Linked DNA regions of Homo sapiens: all the other regions are linked to region 2. The links are contacts of gene promoters, found by promoter capture Hi-C in blood cells and fetal thymus (Javierre and others, 2016). All regions are on one chromosome and are shown on one strand. Each heading gives the region's core, a stretch centred on a gene start or on the middle of the fragment in contact. The rest is flanking DNA. Distances are from core to core; before and after follow the strand shown. Region 1 has its middle 87 kb from the start of LINC02337. Region 2 holds the start of SPACA7 (sperm acrosome associated 7). Region 3 has its middle 110 kb from the start of LINC02337.

Region 1 (3,938 bases), core at 867-3,366, 870 kb before region 2:
CGGCCTCTGCTTGCCCTTCCAAGCCTTCAAGCAAGTGTCCCCCTAGGGACAGCCCAGGCTGCATGTGTGCCCTTCACCCAAGCCTCCATGCGAATGTCCCCCCAGGGACAGCCTGCACTGCGCGTGTGCGCTTTGTCCAAGTTTCTATCACATCCTGTACCTCGGTCCCAGAATCTCTTACTTTTTGCGCTGCCATAGCTGCTATACTTAGTCAGCTTCCCTGCTCAACTGCAAGACACTTAAGAGACAAAAATGAGGCCTGAACTTTTGTGACCCCAACAAATAAATATGTGTTGGCTGGATTCATGGCAAGAAAATCAGGCAGCATGGGTGGCTTAGGGACAACCCATCTGTAAACCCATTTTAACTGCCAGTTTCACCTCATCCCTCCAGCCTCAGCCTCCACCCTCACCCTCACTTCCCTTCTGAGCCTAATGTCCTAGGCCTTTGTTTGGGATGGACTGTGGGGCTCCTCATCTCCCTGAGCACAGCCCCTTTCTGCAGATGCTGAAACCATGAACAACCCCATGCTGGTGGCTGGGTGAGTGAACGGGGGTGCTGGTGGCTGGGTGAGTGAACGGGGGTGCTGGTGGCTGGGTGAGTGAACGGGGGTGCTGGTGGCTGGGTGAGTGAACGGGGGTGCTGGTGGCTGGGTGAGTGAACGGGGGTGCTGGTGGCTGGGTGAGTGAACGGGGGTGCTGGTGGCTGGGTGAGTGAACGGGGGTGCTGGTGGCTGGGTGAGTGAACGGGGGTGCTGGTGGCTGGGTGAGTGAATGGGGGTGCTGGTGGCTGGGTGAGTGAATGTGGGCATAGGCTCCACAGCGTGGATCCCTCCTCCTGGAAAGACCACCAGCAGCCTTTGTTTGAGGAAATTCTGTGCTTTTATTTTCATACAATACAAGGTGACATTATTCACAATGGGAAAAAATATGGCAAAATAAATAACGGAAACCACTTTTCATTGACTTCCCCAGTCATTTGACCTGCCCCCCAGCCTCGGTGCTCAGGTCTCTGGTTAACTACTGATGGTATCAAGAGATTCACTGCACCTTCGGGGGCTGAATTCCTTATTTGTCAATTTTGCTCATTTTATGTTCTTGGTTTGCCCCGACCCACAACAAAAGCTTGGTCCATCAAGAGAATAACATCTATTCGTCACCAGCCAAACCAGATCCCAGGAGAGAACCACATCAGCCACACATCAGCATCTTTTGGGATCATGGCTTTTTGACCCAGACTAACAGAAATATTTATGTGACCAGCACTTGCCCGGAGGCCCCCGTCCTCCTGCAAATACTGTGACCCGGATGCAGGGCGGGTGAGCCTCACAGCAGGGCTTAGCCGGGAGGTGGGGCGGGGGGGGCTTTGCTTTGCCCAGGAAAGAATGCAAGGGTGAGCCAGTGGTAGAAGAGAACACCTTTTCTGAAGCCACAGTGCCACGGCTCTGGAGGTGTTACAGCTCTGTGACGGCCCCCGCGGAGCTGGGCTACCCCATAGGCTGAGAGTTGCTGCTTAAGGTGGTTTTGTTGTCATATTTATACCTACTTTTAATTACATGCAGATTAAGTGGCAGTTTATGCAGAAATTTCTAGGAAAAGGTAGTAACTTCTGGTTCATTGAGTCTGCCGCGGAAAGCGGGGGGTAACGCCCAGTGGCAACAGTAAACTGACAGGTGCACTGGGGGCGTGTCTGATGGAAAACTGCTTCCACACCTTCCCTGTTTTATCTAGTCTTCAGTTGGGTCCGGTGTCTGAGTCCTGCCTACAGAGTCGAGTCCCACCTCCTACCAAAATCTCATACAAAAACAGCATCTGCTGCCCCGAAGCTGGCCAGACATTGCGAAAGGTAAGAAACCCGCCATTGACAGTTGACGACCATCCCTCTGGCTACTCCCTCCCACCCACATCTCTATCTTTAAACCACTGAAAGCAAATGGAGTGAGTTGCGCCTTCCTTCAGTGTGTCTATCTGTGGTCGCTAAGGTGACATATTACATGACATCCTTGGGCACTGGTTTTGCAATAAGCCATTTAAAGATTATGTTACCGGTGGGTCTTTGTTCTTAGAGCTCCCAAGATGGCGGCGGGCCGCTCCCAAGATGGCGGCAAGCCTTTTGTTCTCTGACCTGGGGTTCTTGGCCTCACAGACTCCAAGGAATGGAACGTTGGGCCATGCAGTAGTGTTATAGCTCTATCAGAAGCCGTGGGTCATGGAAGAGAACCGTGGAACCCAGTGACAGGTGTTCAGCTCGATTAGGACGAATCCGGGCACTTAGCCATGCAGGAACAATGGCGAGCCTCTAGCCGATCCGGAGCGGCAAAGTCTAGCTGGGTCAGAAGCTCAGTGGACACTCTGCTGGATCCAGAGGGATGGAAGTTAGAGGCGGGCCTGTGACGGCGGCGATCAGCAGTGGTAGACGGCAAGTGAAAGCTCAACTTGAGCCAGAACAAACACAGACCAGAAGAGTGAGCAGTTGCAAGATTTAGTAGAGTGGAAACAGAGCTCCCGTACAACGGGAAGGGACCCAAAGGATGCTGCCCGATCCGGCTTGAATGCCTGGGTTTATATCCTGATCATTGTCCCTCCCCCTGTGCTCTCAGGCGACAGATGATTTGACTATTTCTTTACCTCCTGCTTTTAGCCTAATTGGTATGTTAGTGAGCTGAGTTACAAGCCCCTGTTTAAAGGTGGGTGCAGTCACCTTCCCCAGCTAGGCTTAGGAATTCTTAGTTGGCCTAGGAAATCCAGCTAGTCCTGTCTCTCAACTAGAATGTCTGTGTGTTTGTGCTGGGCAGTTGTTTGTTTCAATGGGATTAAAGCACTCTGCACTTTCAGTGGGTGCTATTTACAGTATTGAGCTATGTTGAGGGAAAAGTCTGCCGCTTTGTCAATGATGGGAGTTTCTAGTTAACAGCACTTTAAAGAAGTGGAAAATGCTCAGTTATCACCCAATGTGAACAGGATCAATAATAGTTTAGTAGTGCCTGATAATTGGAGTAGCTGTTATACACAAGAGCCTGTATCTCCTTGAGTGACTCTTATCAATCTATTGTCCATCATCATCTGATAATCAGACCGAAAATATGGTGGGGAATTTTCCCTTTTTAAATCAAGCTTGTGAAAAACATTTGAAATAATAAAGAAAAAAGCCCCGCTCATTGTTCATCTCAGCGGGGAGGAAAACCCAGGAGCTGGGTGACTCTGTAAGGCGAATGAAAACTAAGGGGTGTGTGCTGTGTGGAGGGATGCTGGGTGATGTCAGAGGAAAATAATTATATTCAGAGAGCATTTAAAAAATTTGCTGCTTAGAAGCCAAAGTAGTTGCTACAGTCAGACTTCGGGTGGAATTTTTAGTGACATATCTGCTGTGGATCTGGGAGGCCCTCAGAGGGTTTTATGTCATATTAGCCAAGAGGCATTTGAATCACACTGAATCTAGCCCTTCGTGCGTGCTTGGAAGAAGACATGGCATGGTGATGTTAGAGTTCTTTTCTCTGTTCATCCGTTCACCCAATCAAGGATTTGTTGAGCCTCTACTGGGTGTGCCAGACACTCCTGGGAGCAAGACCTCAGCTGTGATCTGCCACAGGTCTGAGGAACCCCTCACCTGGTGACAGCATACGTTGTGCTGTGAAAATTAAGGAAGACGCAGGCAATGGCCTCTGAAGTGCTGGCTTGCGCTCCTGTCCAAGGAGAGAGAGGCCCAGATCTGGGCTCCAGGGACCCCAGGGACCCGTGGGAGGGCACCAGGCATGTTGTCCATGGTGGTAGACTGGCTTGTTCCTGCTTCCCATGCCCTCCCTCTGCCACGGAACTTGCCCTGTCTTCCAGCATTCCAGGAGGAGTCCACCGGTATCTAGATGGCTGGATTTGGGCTTGATCCTGGGACTAGCTCTGGCTGGTGGAGTGGGAGTGCCATAATGCGAGAAATGAGTTGAA
Region 2 (3,765 bases), core at 1,261-3,760:
ATATATTTTTTAGACAGAGTCTTGCTCTGTCACCCAGGCTGGAGTGCAGTGGCGCGATCTCCGCTCACTGCAAGCTCCGCCTCCCAGGTTCATGCCATTCTCCTGCCTCAGCCTCCCGAGTAGCTGGGACTACAGGTGCCCACCCAGTTAATTTTTTTGTATTTTTAGTAGAGACGGGGTTTCACCGTGTTAGCCAGGATGGTCTTGATCTCCTGACCTCGTGATCCGCCCACCTCGGCCTCCCAAAGTGCTGGGATTACAGGCGTGAGCTACCGCGCCCGGCCTCTGACTACCATATTTTAGTGCTCAAATCTGTTCCTCCACTCCTGCATCTGGGATTAGTTTGACTCATTTGGCCGATGAGACATTAGCAAATGTGGTGCAAGAAAAGGCTTGTTTGCATCGAGGCTTACTCTCCTTTCTGCTGTGACCAAGCCCAGGCTGCCTGCTAGAGGCCGAGAGACCACATGGAGGGAAGCCTCAGCCATCCCAAGCCCCAGCATCCTAGCTAAGGCCTCAGACATGTCCATGAGGCCACACTAGGCCAGCAGCCCCCAGAGCCAACCCACAAAGTTGTAAGCAATCACACATGGGCTGTATCAAGTCACCGAGCTTCGGGCAGCCTTGAGAATGACTCCTTCCTCGACCAAATCAGCGAGGCTCCTCTGACCCCTCTTCTCAACGAGGCCTCGCCCCCAGCCCTGATCAAATTCCTCATCCTCCGCCTTGAGGTGGAAGTCCCTGGCCTGCCTTAGCCAGACATCCCTCCTTGGTGCAGTGGGTGTCGTTCGACAGGCAGCAGTGCAGGGTTCTGCTGTCATGGGAGCTCTGGCTGCTGTCCGTTTGTACATTCAGCCTCTTAGGCCCATGCTGCTGGCCCCAAAATGACATTCTGAGTAGCAAGAGCCTGGGTTATAGAAGCAAGCATCTCACTTGGACCATTCATTAACTCAGAGTGGGACTTGGAACCCACTGGGTTTCTGTAAATGTCAACCATGCTTAGTGTGCCTTTATGGACACGCTGAAAATCTGAAATATACTCCCCACACCTTGAGGTAGATTGGCTACCACTGCATCTATCAAAAGGAAAACCTGAGCAAAAATGTGCTGTGGGTTCCCATACAAGCAATAAAAATTAAAGAGCCAGAGACCCATGGTGGGTCAGCCATCCTTGGGGTCCTGACCAGACCTCGGGGGCATTGTTAGTCTTGTGCGTCCAGGGCCCCAGTGATATGGTTTGGCTCTGTGTCCTCACCCAAGCATCATCTTGAATTATAATCCTCATAATCCCACGTGTTGAGGGAGGGACTTGGTGGGAGGCGATCTGATCATGGGAGTGGATTCCTGCATGCTGTTCTCATGATAAGTGAGTTCTCACTAGAGCTGATGGTTTTATAAGTGTTTAACAGCTCCTCCTTCATGTACTCTCTCTCCTGCCGCCTTGTGAAGAAGGTGCCTGCTTCCCCTTCCGTCATGATTGTAAGTTTCCTGAGGCCTCCCCAGCCATGCAGAACTGTGAGTCAATTAAATCTCTTTTCTTTATAAATTACCCAGTCTCAGGGAAGTTCTATATAGCAGTGTGGGAACAGACAAACACACCAGCCCTCTCCACCATGGAGCTGGGATCTGAGGGCTGTTCACCTGGGACCCCACCACCGGCCGAGTCTAGACCAGCTGCCCCACTCTGAGCCCTGGATGTAGGAGTCAGTCCAGGGGTGAGATAGGATCCAGGGGAGCCAACCAGAGTGACTCCTTTGGGGTTTTGTCACTGCACGGATGGAGAAAGCTCTAGAAAGTCTAGGAGATAGAGCTGGGAGGATGATAACATGGAAATGCAGCCATGTTCTCCTCTCGTGATTAAAGTCTCACTGCCAGGGAAAGATTGGGGCTGATGCTGAGAAAGAAGGTGTGGGGGAAAGGAGGCTGAAACCTGGGTCATCTGTCTCCTGTTCTTCATGATCCTGGAACTTTGAGGGTGGGGGAGGGTGGGAGGGGACATGGGGCCACGGGCCTCTGTTCTTCAAGGCTCTGTTCTTCAAGGGACCTTTAAGAGGTGATTAGACCCTCTGGATCTGTCGGTTCTGGCACTTGCTCTGTAATTCAACCACCTCTCCAGCATCCTTCAAATACGCCTCTTTCCATGGGAGCAGATTTTGTTGGCTTTTGGCCACTGGCCCTTAAGTCCTGATTAGTATCTACCCCTTGAGTCCTCAGGGTGCTCAGGACAGAGGAAGTCACCAGAACAGGCAATAAGAAAGAGTGGAGAGGATCTCTGTTACCTTAAGACCCCAGTGAGCCTCCTCCCTGCTTCCCAGTCACAGACTCTGGACAGAAACCCTGCCCCCCGCCCCTGGCAAGATGCCAGCTCCCTTCCTGGTCCTGATGTCACAGGTCCCTGGACATGACCTCCCCACCAGGGCAGGACCCCAGCTCCCTTCCTGGTTGTGATGTCACAGGTCCTGACATTCCACAGTGTCCTGGAGACCAAGGATGGGAAACTGTCAACCTTCAGAACGTCCTTCTCCCTCAGCTGGAGGGAGCATGGCAGTGAGCCAAGGAGACGGGACCCTCTGCTTTGTCCTCCTGCTGTGCTGTTGGCAAGAAACTGAGCTCCGGCCGAGAACCGTGATTCCAGGTAGGGCCCCACAGGGATGTCTCAGCAGAAAGAGAACTGAACCAGGTGGGGAGCGGCGGCCTCTTCTCCCATGGGTTCCTCTTATTCCCAACCTACATGAATTTACCATTTATTCCTTGGGGAATGAATGTAGCTGAAAAGTCTTTCTATCTTTGAAGACTTTTTAAAATCTAGATGTCCATAGGAAAGTTGCAAATGTTACTTATTTTAACTTTTTATTATGGAAAATTTCTAACTGGGAAGAATATCATGAACCTTCGTGTATTCACCCTCAGGTTCAATTATTGTGCATATTTTGTTTTTTTCTACACACACACACATACACACTCCACACCACATACACACACTTTTCTTGTTTGGGGAGTATTTTAGCACCATCCCAGATGCCTTACCACCTCATGTAAAACATTTTCTTGCGAAGAGATAAAAGCATTATCTACAATGTCATAATCAGACTAACATAATTACCAAAAGCCTTTATCTCAGCTCATACCGTTAAAAAATATTTGTGATGCTTGCTAAAGATGGGCAGGCAGCCTTTATTCAAAGGGGGCTACTACCATGGTGTCTCATAATAGTGGAGAGTGGGCTCAACTCCAAATACAGGGAAAGTGGAGATTTGCAGCCAAGGATCAGGGTGGGTCAGTGGATGAACATTGCTAAAAGGTAGGAGAATTCTTTGCTAAACTGATTCAGCAAAGGCCAAGAGGGCTTTTATAAACAAAAATGAAGCATTTATATTTTTTGTCCCACCTGATTACTCTAGAATTTGGATATTATGATTTTCAGGACCATACAATTGTTTGCATAAGTTTAATAAAAATTGATTATCCTTGCAACAGGACACAAAGGTCTGCTATCTTTGAAGACCTTTTAAAATCTAGACATCCATGAGAGAGTTGCATATGTTACTTATTTTAACTTTTTATTATGGAAAATTTCTAACTTGGAAGAATATCATGAACCTCCATGTATTCACCCTCTAGTTCAATTATTGTGTATATTGTGTTCGGCCAAACAGGAGGCCAGACCTGAAAGGAAGCCAAGGCAATAAAATAATCAAAGATGGAGGGTGAGGAATTTGATCAGATATCAAGGGTGACCAGGCCAAGACTAGGGGATTTCCACTA
Region 3 (3,681 bases), core at 673-3,172, 890 kb before region 2:
GGCCCCTTTCCTCACTCTGCATGTGAAGTGGTTCTCGCTCTCTCTGCATAACCTGTGGGGGGAAACCCTCCCTGGATATGCTGAGGTCAACTCCAGGGCTGGGCTTTGGTGGACCTCCCAGAGCTCACGAGTTTCTGTTGACAGCCAGCTGCTACCAGGTGTGGGCCAGAGCCCCGAGCTTCTTTTCCTATAGCATGGGGGGTGTTTGTCCTGTGCTCAGCCCTCCCCTAACCCGGCTAGTCCTCAGCTGCCCCAGGGGCACCTGGGCCCTCACCAAGCAGCTGGCCTGGAAAGAGACTCACGGTGGGCCATGGGTGACTTGGTTTAAAGGACAAAAGGACTCTGGGTGCATTTCTCCTGCCATACAGGCCATGAGGGAAGAGAAGAAGCAGACATGTCTCTGTCCCTTCACTAAGTGTCAGGAGAAAGGAGGAGACGACTGCCCATGGCTGCACTTGCTGCTCTTTCTGGCATTTCTGAGTTACTGGGGCAGCCAAAACATCCCTTCTGTGAAATGTGTGTGGCTGGTATCAGCTGGCAGCCAGGACAAACTTTGTGCAGCACAAGTGTGGCATTGGAGACCCTCTGTTTCTTGCATCTGCCCTAGGTGAGCTGTGAAAGAGCAAGGAGGCCAGGGGAGAGGAGGAGGAGGAGGGCTCAGTGCAGCCTCCAGGCAGCAAGCACCTGCCCAAGGGGCTGCCGAGGGTGAGCATGGGCCTCACCGCCAGCCCCCCGCTCATAGGCCACGCCTCACCAGAGAAGGTCCTGGAAGTGGAGAAGGTCCTGGAAGTTGGCCACGTGCAACAGTTAGGGCTGAGCAACCGGGGGTGCTCAAGGCATCAGTCACAACAGGAAGAAAGTGAAATACCAGGGCTGCTCCCCGCTGGGGAAAACCTGTGTGCCTCCTGTACAGAAGGGCCTTTTTATTGTTAATCTGAGAAAGAATGTTCCGTGAGGCTTGCTTCCAGCTACAAAGGGCCACCTGTAGATAGATATTGGTGATGTCTTCTTAGGTTGGAATTACTGCTCAAGCTCCATTGGGAAACTCAATTTTCCTTTTTTTTTTTGGAGGGGGCAAAGATTGAATGGAATCGATGATGTGGTCTGAGCAGAATTATTGCATTGTGTGGGCCAGTGAGAGCAAACCTTAAGAAATTTGTAGTGTACACTTGAAATTTGCTAAAAGGATAGCTCTTAATCCCAGCACTTTGGGAGGCCAAGGTGGGAGGATAACTTGAGGCCAGGAGTTCAAGACCAGCCTGGCCAACATTATGAAACCCCATCTCTACTAAAAATACAAAAATTTGGCTGGGTGTGGTAGTGGGTGCCTGTAATCCCAGCTCCTTGAGAGGCTGAGGCGGGAGAATCGCTAGAACCCAGGAGGCAGAAGTTGCAGTGAGCCAAGATTCCTCCCCTGCACTCCAGCCTGGGTGACAGAGTGAGACTTCATCTCAAAAAAAAAAAAAAAAAAGATCTTAAATCTTCTCAGCGTGGACACAAACAGGATAACTACACAGAGGTGATAGACATGTTAATTAGCTGGAATGTAGTGTCATTTCATATGGATAGGTGCATCAAAACATCAGGTTGTACATCTTAAATATATACGGTTTTTAGATGTCAATGCTATCTCAATAAAACTACTTTCTAGAAAGTAAAGTCTGAGCATTTGGGAGGGTGGGAATGGAGAACTCTTTTATCCGGATAAGAGCAGGCCGCACATAGACGTGTAACTGAGGGAACCAGCCAGGTGAGCCTGAGGCAGATCAGAGATTTGCAATGTCCCAGCAGGTATGGCAAGGGGTGCCCTGAAATTCTCCTGGTGGAATTTTGACAGGGAGTCCTCATAAAATTACATATAAATAAAGAATCCTATAAGTCTATAACAAAAGAGAAAATAAAATTTCCTTTTTTTCTCTTGTTCTCTCAAGGACACACCTGGTAAGTCTCCTCTTTCTAGGAATCAAAAAGCACCTTGGCCAGCAAGTGGGTTTTCAGCGCTTACCTGACTTGCAGGTACACCATGGCCTGCTGAGCAGTTCACTCACATGCACGGCGAGAAAACAGGACTGTCCCTGCCGAGTGTCATGATGGCAGCGGTCACTCTATTAAACAGGGACTGTGAACACACCTGACAGGTGTCATCCTAAAGACACGCTAGGCTGTGGACTAAGGTGTAAGGCTGGCTCCATTCTGTGGATCTGGGTTCAGGCAGTGTTTATTAGAACCAGCTTTCTCCAGTCTGTGGTGTGACTTCCTGGCTTGCTCATGGCACGGTGCTGCGAAGCAACTTTTCCCTCTGGGCCCCCTTCCTGAGTATATCCCTGGTTTCTCTGGGAAAGCCTTCCTCACTGCCCTCTCCCTTCCCTCACACCAGCTGCATTCATTTCTCCCTTCTCTGTCCCCTGGGAAGGAGCTGGAATGTGGGTCACGTCCTGCCGAGATACCTGCTCCATCCAGCTTGGGGCTGGGAGTGCCTCAGAAGCTGACGGCAGAAGGCCCCAGCTTAGCCCGGCATCCGGCACACAGCAGACACCCCGGGCTCTGGGCTTGAGAGCTATGAGCAGGTGCACATTACTCTACTCCAGCAGGAGAGTCGGGCCTTGTGAATGACTCATTCATTTATTCTTTTTGCTTCTCTCATGTTTTCAGCCGAAGGGTGCGTTTTGCCAAAGTTTCCCTCCCTCCCTTTCTCCCTCTCCCCATCTCTCTCCCCATCTCTCTCTCTCTGTCTTTCTTTCTCTCTCTTTTTTTTTTTTTTTTTGTGATGGAGTTTCACTCTTGTTGCCCAGGCTGAAGTGCAATGGCACGATCTCGGTTCACTGCAACCTCTGCCTCCTGGGTTCAAGCGATTCTCCTGCGTCAGCCTCCTGAATGGTTGGGATTACAGGAGCCTACCACCATGCCTGGCTACTTTTCTTTTATATTTTTAGTAGAGATGGAGTTTCACCATGTTGGCCAGGCTGGTTTCGAACTCCTGACCTCAAGTGATTAGCCCGCTTCGGCCTTCCAAAATGCTAGGATTACAGGTGTGAGCCACCGCACCTGGCCCCTTTTGCCAAAGTTTCTATGTCATATAAAACCTAGAGAGTGGACATAGTCATCACTCCTGGAGTCACAGGGCTGCGATAGCTCTGGGCTTCGGGAAAATAAGCTGCTCACATCTTGCTTGCAAAAGCACGGCTTCAAGTGCCGGAGTGGACTCACCAGAGATAAGCATAAACCTCACAGTGGCAGCTGTGTGGAGATGATTTTTCATTTGCTGGAGGGACTGTCAAAACTCACGGTCCTCGGAGAGTGTCTTTCCCACTGTCATGGGTGAGATAAACTTCCCCAAATGCTACCACGGCCAAGCTGCCAACTCCACATTTGCATTAGTAGTTTAGCTACAAATTAAACACGTTGCCAGCATGCTTTATTTTGGTTTGGGAAGGTAAATTGTAGTAATTATATTGGGACACAGGAATGCATACTTAAATTTGAGGAGAAACACATTGCCAAGGCTTGAATCTGTCATTTAGGGATGACTTGGCATATGTGCATCGCACCGAACAAGCTATATTTGCAAATGGGTGCTCCCTTTCTCAAGGTGAACAAGCCAAAATTAACCAATGCTTTCTTGCTAGCAAGTCTTCCCGGAGCATCTGAAGGATGATGGGGAACGTTAAAACCATCGTGAAA

The links. Contacts are between HindIII fragments. The CHiCAGO score rates a contact against its expected background, and 5 or more counts as called.
Region 1: a fragment that was not itself captured here is called in contact with the fragment with the promoter of SPACA7 in region 2 in 1 of 17 cell types (endothelial precursors); the score reaches 6.1 in endothelial precursors.
Region 3: a fragment that was not itself captured here is called in contact with the fragment with the promoter of SPACA7 in region 2 in 1 of 17 cell types (endothelial precursors); the score reaches 6.3 in endothelial precursors.

The regions. Positions count from the first base shown.
Region 1 is chr13:111,506,974-111,510,911 of GRCh38, forward strand. No RefSeq gene overlaps it. Among named protein-coding and RNA genes, the nearest start is that of LINC02337, 87 kb to the right of the region's middle. The HindIII fragment of the contact is 1,989 bases long and covers 1,123-3,111 here.
Region 2 is chr13:112,373,845-112,377,609 of GRCh38, forward strand. It overlaps SPACA7 (sperm acrosome associated 7), which reads left to right and starts at 2,511. Exons shown (of 7, transcript NM_145248.5): 1 at 2,511-2,635. The coding sequence starts at 2,542. LOC105370373 (a long non-coding RNA gene) reads right to left here and starts at 2,434. Exons shown (of 3, transcript XR_944295.3): 1 at 2,280-2,434. The HindIII fragment of the contact is 13,511 bases long and covers 1-3,765 here.
Region 3 is chr13:111,488,748-111,492,428 of GRCh38, forward strand. No RefSeq gene overlaps it. Among named protein-coding and RNA genes, the nearest start is that of LINC02337, 110 kb to the right of the region's middle. The HindIII fragment of the contact is 5,857 bases long and covers 1-3,681 here.